Regions from separate parts of the Homo sapiens genome. Here region 2 is linked to region 1. Evidence: promoter capture Hi-C in 16 types of primary human blood cells and fetal thymus (Javierre and others, 2016). All regions are on one chromosome and are shown on one strand. Each heading gives the region's core, a stretch centred on a gene start or on the middle of the fragment in contact. The rest is flanking DNA. Distances are from core to core; before and after follow the strand shown. Region 1 holds the start of C9orf153 (chromosome 9 open reading frame 153). Region 2 overlaps NAA35 (N-alpha-acetyltransferase 35, NatC auxiliary subunit).

What was found. Contacts are between HindIII fragments. The CHiCAGO score rates a contact against its expected background, and 5 or more counts as called.
Region 2: a fragment that was not itself captured here is called in contact with the fragment with the promoter of C9orf153 in region 1 in 2 of 17 cell types (megakaryocytes and M2 macrophages); the score reaches 5.3 in megakaryocytes.

The regions. Positions count from the first base shown.
Region 1 is chr9:86,258,407-86,262,242 of GRCh38, reverse strand. C9orf153 (chromosome 9 open reading frame 153) reads left to right here and starts at 2,586. Exons shown (of 4, transcript NM_001276366.4): 1 at 2,586-2,693. It also overlaps the pseudogene RN7SKP264. The HindIII fragment of the contact is 3,437 bases long and covers 1,788-3,836 here.
Region 2 is chr9:86,012,953-86,016,788 of GRCh38, reverse strand. It overlaps NAA35 (N-alpha-acetyltransferase 35, NatC auxiliary subunit), which reads right to left. Exons shown (of 23, transcript NM_024635.4): 16 at 3,645-3,743; 17 at 2,892-3,070; 18 at 114-250. Among named protein-coding and RNA genes, the nearest start is that of NAA35, 74 kb to the right of the region's middle. The HindIII fragment of the contact is 3,436 bases long and covers 1-3,391 here.

The DNA.
Region 1 (3,836 bases), core at 1,337-3,836:
AGCTAACTACACATAAATGGCATCCTGCTAAGGGTAGACGTTTCATACGTTGTAATTCTTGTCCCTTTTAGCCATTTTCTTGTGCAAAAAGGGATAATATGTTAATGGATTATCAATCAAAGCAAGAGCTTAGGGAAAGAGTTTCAACACATTTAGGGAGTTATTGTCCCATATTCAAATCTGGGGGAAATTTGCTGTATTTCCTTCAAATAAAAGACCACAGTAACTTCTTTGAAAAGAACCATAAATTTCAAATATAAACATTCGGAGAAATTTCATTCTCTTAGTAGCTGATTAACTATAGACAAACCTGCCTTAATTGAGGAGCTGTTTTGAAAGCTCATTCCCCAGTAGGAACTCAATCTCCTGGTCCCAGGTGGGTCTCATCAGACAAGAGATGGAGGAGAGAGGGAGGTGCACCCTAGCCTCAGCCTCTATTGAAATACAGAGCCATGTGGTGGTTACATCACTGTGGACTCCCATCCTCCCTTGCTGCTGTGCAGTGTTCAGGGAAGGCTTCATTTCACACCAACCTTTAGCGGGGCAAGGGCTCTGTACCAGCGGTACTCAGCTTAAAACTAGCCTACTTTGAGGGCCTTGATGGGTTACTGCTTTTACTTCCACTAGCTAGTGATTCCGAAACTTTTCATGATGAAGTGCCCATTTATTGGGCCAGGTGTGTTGGCTCAAGCCTGTAATCCCAGCACTTTGGGAGGCAAAAGTGGGCAGATCACCTGATCCCAGGAGTTCAAGACCAGCCTGGGCAACGTGGTAAAACGCCGTCTCTACAAAAAATACAAAAATTAGCTGGTCATGGTGGTACATGCCTGTAGTCCCCGTTGCTCAGGAGACCAAGGTGAGAGGATCACTTTAGCCCAGGAGGTAGAGGTTGCAGTGAGCCAAGATCGTACTACTGCACTCCAGCCTGGATGACAGAGCAAGACCCTGTCTCAAAAAAAAAAAGAATAAAAAATAAAGTACTCATTTTTTGTTCTCCATGGATTCTATGTCTTGAAGCAGTCCTCAAACTTTAAGGTGCAAATAAGTCACCTGGGGGTCTTGTTAAAAAGCAGATTCTTGGCCGGGCGCAGTAGGTAGCTCACGCCTGTAATCCAGCACTTTGGGAGGCTGAGGCGAGTGGATCACTTGAGGTCAGGAGTTCGAGACCAGCCTGGCCAACATGGTGAAACCCCATCTCTACTAAAAATACACAAAAATTAGCCAGACATAGTGGTGGGCGCCTCTAGTCCCAGCTACTCAGGAGGCTGAGGCAGGAGAATCACTTGAACCTGGGAGGTGGGGAGGTTGCAGTGACATGAGATGGCACCACTGCATTCCAGCCTGGGTGACAGAGCAAAACTGTCTCAAAAAAAAAAAAAAAGCAGATTCTGTAACAAAGGTCCAGGGCAGAGCCTGAGATTCTGCATTAGTAGCAAAGGCCCAAGTGAAGCCAGTGCTGTTGCTCTGCAGAACACCTTTGAATGGCAGGCTTTTGAAATATTTTCTCATTGGAAGAATCTTCTGTATTTATTAAATTCTGCTTAAAATTATTAACTTTCTTGTATATCCATGTTCATAACAGCATTATTCACAATAGCCAAAAGGTAGGAACAACCCAGGTGTCCATTGACAGGGGACAGGGGGTGAGAAATTTATTTCATGGACACAGATTCAGGTGGAAAAGATGAAAAAGCTCTGGAGATGGAAGGCAGTGCAGGTGGCACAACAATGTGAATGTACTGAATGCCACAGAACTGTGTACCTAAAACGGCTTAACACGGTAAGCTTCATGTTATGGATATGTTGCCACGGTGTTCACAAGTTATTAACTCAATCAGACTATTTAAATGCCCAGTAGATTGCATTCTGGGGAAATGGCTGTTTCAGGAAAATTTTCAGTGATTGCCACAGGGACCTCCCATGGGTGGGGAATGGAGTCTGGAGCACGGCTGCATGGCTCATGGAGAGAATTTGCACAGCCAGGTAGCCCCTGGTCCACTTCTACCCATATCTGGCCAGGTGCAAAGAGCATAGCTGTACCTTCTATTATCTCTCTCAATTTCTTATTTGCACTTTGCCCATGTCTATAGAAGGAAAAACTTGACTGATTAAAAATTACATTCACGGCACCTGTAGTCCCAGCTACTCAAGAGGCTGAGGCAGGAGAATGGCGTGAACCCGGGAGGCGGAGCTTGCAGTGAGCTGAGATCGTGCCACTGCACTCCAGCCTGGGCGACAGAGTGAGACTCCATCTCAAAAAAAAAAAAAAATTATACTCACGCCAGCCTGGGCAACATGGCGAAACCCCATCTCTAGAGAAAAATACATAAATTAGCCAGGCGTGGTGGCGTGCGCCCGGGGTCCCAGCCACAAGCTGAGGCAGAAAAAAAAGTAGCTACTCAGCTACTCAATGTTCACTCTTTAAAAATGCTTTTCCATCATCCTCCACCGTCTCCCACCCCCCACCAAGCAGCAAGATAATTCCCCATCGCTTAGCATCATATAGCTGCTTATGTGACCTTGAGAATGTCCACATGTCACAATGGACAGTCACTTAACACTAAGCAATGACACATGCTAGGAGTGGGGCTGGGCCTTGGGGCTGCTGGATGAATGAGACCCAGCCTCTGCCCTGGGAGTGCAGAGACTCAAGACAGATATGACCACGTGAAGAGACAACTGTAAAACAAGTGGTAAGTGCATCTACAGCCATAGCCACGGGGCACTGTGAGACCACAGAGCAGTGAAAACTAAGCCAGTCTAGGCTTGGCAAGGAGAGATGGAGTGAGGTGGGCAGTGGCTAAGGTGGGAAGACCAGAGCTGGGAGGTGAGATGGGATTTGGGTTTATCTTTACCAATAAGGATGAGGAGCCTGTTTCATCTTCCTCCAGGCAGGTCACAGAAGCTGGAACCAGTTGATCGGGCCGAGCCTGCAGACTCCCTCATCCTTTCCGGCCTTCAACACTGATAGCTCTGCTCTCTCTCCCCAACCTCAGTGCCTTCATCCTCCCCTGTGTTCCCATGGATGCTTGGTCCTGACTTTGCACCTCTCCCTCACACCCAGTGTCCTTTGTTTTTCCTCTGCCACTTGGGAGGCTGATGGGAGGATCACCTGAGCCTGGGAGGTTGAGGCTGCAGTGACCTGTGTTCACGCCACTGCACTCCAGCTGGGGTGACAGAATGAGAGCCTATCTCAAAGAAAAAAAAAAAACACTGCTCTGTATGATACTATCAAAGTGGATATATGTAATTGCACATTGTGAAATCTCATAGAATGCACAACACCAAGAATGGACCGTAATGTAAACTGTGAAGTATGGGCTTTAGTTAGTAACCATGCATTGATACCGGCTCATCAAGTATAACAAACGTACCACACAAACATAAGTAGTAAAAAAAAAAGGGGAAAGCTGTGTGTATGGTGCAGAGAAGGGGGGTTGTGGGAACATTGTACTTTCTAACCAATTCTAAAATTGCTCTAAAATTTAAGTATATTAATATTTTTAAAAAAAGTTTCGTTAAATTAGCAATATAATAGTTGCTTACCCAAGAAAATTCAGGTTTTCAAATATTGCGTTTTAAAAGCAATTATTTCCGGATGTGAGGGTGATCTGGCTGCAACATCTGTCACCCCACTGATGGCCAGGGTTAATTTGTCTGATCTGGCTGGCTAGGTGGATGTCTCCTTCCTCCCTCATCCGTCCACATGCGTCCTTCCAGACGCTGCGGACAACCTTCCCCAACAGAGGAGGGCCGTTCTTTGGGCAAGGGTATATGAGTAGCTGCACTCCCCTGCTAGAACCTCCAAACAAGCTCTCTAAAAGTAATTACTTCAA
Region 2 (3,836 bases), core at 424-2,923, 240 kb after region 1:
AAAGAGGAACAAGAACTAAAATATAATGACCAACTCACGAGTAGCTCTCCATCTATTTATCTGTAGAAATTAAAGTACACTCTGTTCTTAAGTTTAAAAATAATCCACAGCACCTTTCTTTTTTTTCTTTGTTTTTTTACTACTACGGCCTTTCTGCTGCTCTTCCATTATCCTTTCCTCTGCCATTTGAGAGCCATCGGCACGACTCAATGTTGACATCAACCATGCGTAAAGGAATTCAGAGAGATACCTTAAAGGATACAAAATGTTAGTTAATGGTAGATGTCTAAATGAGACAGCTTTATCAACACATATATTAACGATAGATATTTCAAATAATGCTTTAGGTCTTTAAAAACAGATCATTCATTAGATAATAGATTAGATCTTACAAGAAATGAACATAAGGATTAATTTTCCCTTTCTACATTTTACAACTTTCCAGAAGATTTCTTGATAATTATACATGTACATATGCAAATCAAATGAATGCCCATTAAGTTTTTATTATATCAGAACACAGTTCAGTTCAGTCTATAAATATTTTCTTTTAATCACAAAGCAAATAAAATCAGAAAAAGATAAAAAATTATCGGCATTATATAAAATCATTCTTAAAAATTAAGAACATTCACATTTACAATTTACTTGAGTTTATTTAATAAATGAAATATAAAACAGAACATTCTCTACCAGACACTAATTTTTCAGAACTTTAACACTGCTAAGCCAGAAAAGTCTTCAAATCTACGAGATATATATATATATAAAAATATATATGCATTTCATAACATAATAAGGCCTATAATTTCATATGGAGAGTAAACAATTCCTGGCCCTGAATTTAAGAAAAACATTTACTATAGTACCCTTTTATACCATATAACTGAATTTTGTTCCCTGCCACCCTACAAAATGTGAGAGTCCATAACAACTCATATATCTTAATTCAAGTGAAGGATTTCTATAGGCAACTGATGATGTCTTCTACCTTCTGTTTATCTAACCTAAGGACACATGAGTGAAGGGGACAACTAAGATGCAGCCTTTTCTTCTCAAATATCAGGTACCTCAATGATCTTTTATTAAGTGCTTTATCAAAATTAATATACATTTATGTCTAAGAGAGTGCTGATATTCTATACCAATGGTTCTCAAACTGTCATCTCTGGGCCAGCAGCAGTTCACCTGAGAACCAGTTAGAAATGCAAATTATTCGGTCTCACCCTAGACCTAACAGGTCAGGAATTCTAGGAACTTAGCCCAAAAATTTGTGTATTAATGCACTTTCCAAGTGATTATGATGCATGTTAAAGTTTAAGAATCACTGTTTTTGCTGATGATTTAAAGAGTCCACATGCTTCAGGGACCGTATGCATGAAAAACAACTAAAGGTTATCTCGGGGAAATGCAGGAGCCCAATCTGTAATTTTGAAATTAAAAAGCAGTTCAAAACCAATTATGAAAAGACCACAAGGGTATTTATGGGCAGACTAAAGTTCTTTTAACAAGAAAAGAAACAAATCTACTTATGTATATAGACAAATGTGTAATGGAGTATTTATCTGCGTCTCATTTATTTGCTCAATTAAGATCCCAATTCTCTGTGCAAAAAAGCATATAAAAATAATATTTTGATCTGAGAAATCAAGAACAAAGGTCCCATTAGCTGCTTCAAGCCACAAAAGAACCTGAGCATGTTCCCCTATAAAAAGGAACAAAAGTAGCCAGGTGCAGTGGTGCACATCTGTAGTCCCACCTACTTGAGAGGCTGAGGTGGGAAGACTGACAACCCAAGAGTTCAGGACCAACCCGGGCAACATGGCAAGACCCCACCTCAAAAAACAGAAACGAAAACAAAACCAGAATTGTCTACTATGAATAACAAAATGTAGTATCCAAAGTAGCTATATAAATACCTGTTAGTAAGGATTATTTGGTATTATCTATATAAATGTTGAAGAATATATAGCAAGGAAAATTATTCTCATACTGCTATAGTTGATGCTCAAATTCAGTTTTCACAGGCAAGAGTTGTCTGTCAAAAGCCTTCACTGCTCATAACAAAATCTACATCAACAGCATGGAAGAGAATTACTTTCCCTCCCACAGCAGTGACTTCAGAGAATACAGAATAACTTAATTACTAGGTAAAATTTAAACAAGTTTAAAAGTTGAACTCTATTAAAGTCTAATACACTAAACCTGAGTGTTTGTGATGAGTAACACAGGTCATTAGTTTAAAATTATGTGCCAGACTGAGAAAAAAATTCAAAATAACTGAATTCATTAACACTCAATCTTATTTTCTTTCTATGACAGCTTTTACATGCCTAAAATATGCTCAAACATCCTCTTTTCCAAACATCCTCTTACTAGGTTTATTTTGTCCGCAAGTGAAAGGGAAGAACTACTCTGCCGAAGATCATCTTTTATCAACTCCAAAGCTCCTGAAGTGAATCCTCAGCACCACGGTTTGAAACAGTTATGCTCCCAGTGATCACCTTGGTCATGATTTCTTCCAAGAAGACAGACCTCATTCCAATTTGATGTTTAACTGTCAAGTACATCCACAGCTAGTGCCACCAAATTCAGGGCAAAATGTGTTAATTTTTCTCCATAGGAGCAAATAAATGATCTTCAATTAATCCATTTACTTTGGAGTCATTTTTTGTTAATTTTTACATAAACATTTGGAAAAATACACTCATGCAATATTATAGCACTTAAAGATATTCAAGATGATCTAGCTCTAATTTTCAAATTTTTCCAACTGTCCCACAACTAAAGATAAAATATACTAAATGAAAAAGTACCCTGAAATTAACTCTGAATTCTCAGATCTTATCCATTGCACCCACCACCAATTTTAACTCAAACTGTGCTCTTACCAATATATGTAATAGTACTCGTGCATACTGTAGAGTTCCAATTCAAAGCCACTTAGAAGGTACTGTATCATAATGCGAAGGTTATGGTAAAGGACCCAGGTACCTAAACAGGCCAAATGTTGCCTTTGGGGTTCCTGTTTCAACAGCATGGTGTGAAGCGCTGCATCAACCTTCTCTGCCTATTAAAATAAAATGTCATAAACTGTGTTCGTTTTGTTTTCTTAAGGTAATGACAGAACTTTAAAAAAACGTACAGCTAAAAAGAATATGAGCAGAAAATTTAAATCTGACCACCCAAAGAAACATTTTTAAATGCATTTTTAGTTAGGTTTACATTTGAAGTTCTCATTTCACAATGGTTAACATTTACCTAAACATGCCTTAAACCAAATCAATTTTAAAGGACAAAAATACAAATACACTTCAGGTCTTATCAATATTGCTGCTGCACACAAATTAACTTTAAAATTAATGTATTAATATTTTTTATAATGTAAGCTTGTAAAACTATCATTTTATACATATTTCATAATTTATTCCTATTATCAAAGAAATATTTAAGATATCTATCAGTTTGGATTATTGTTCTGTTTCATTTTGTAAACGTTGGTGTAAGAAACTGTTATATTTTAAGTGAAAAGTGGATCATGTTGAAAAATTAGTCAAAATATTGTTCTGAATTATTGTTTTTAAAAATCTGGACAAAGTGTGTGCATCATTTAATTTTAGAAGAGAGGGGAACCTGGCTCTTACCTCATCCTGCAAGGTGGCAAATTCCTCAAGAATATGACCAAGCTTATCTCTCTGTCGAGCCCTGTTATGTCCATGGATCTGAATAAGACTACAGAATGGCTGCAATACACATATAATTTGTCAACTGTAAATATGAAATTTCCTAGTACCAAAGAAACTTAACATTCCAAGTTCACAATCTGGTTTAAGGGA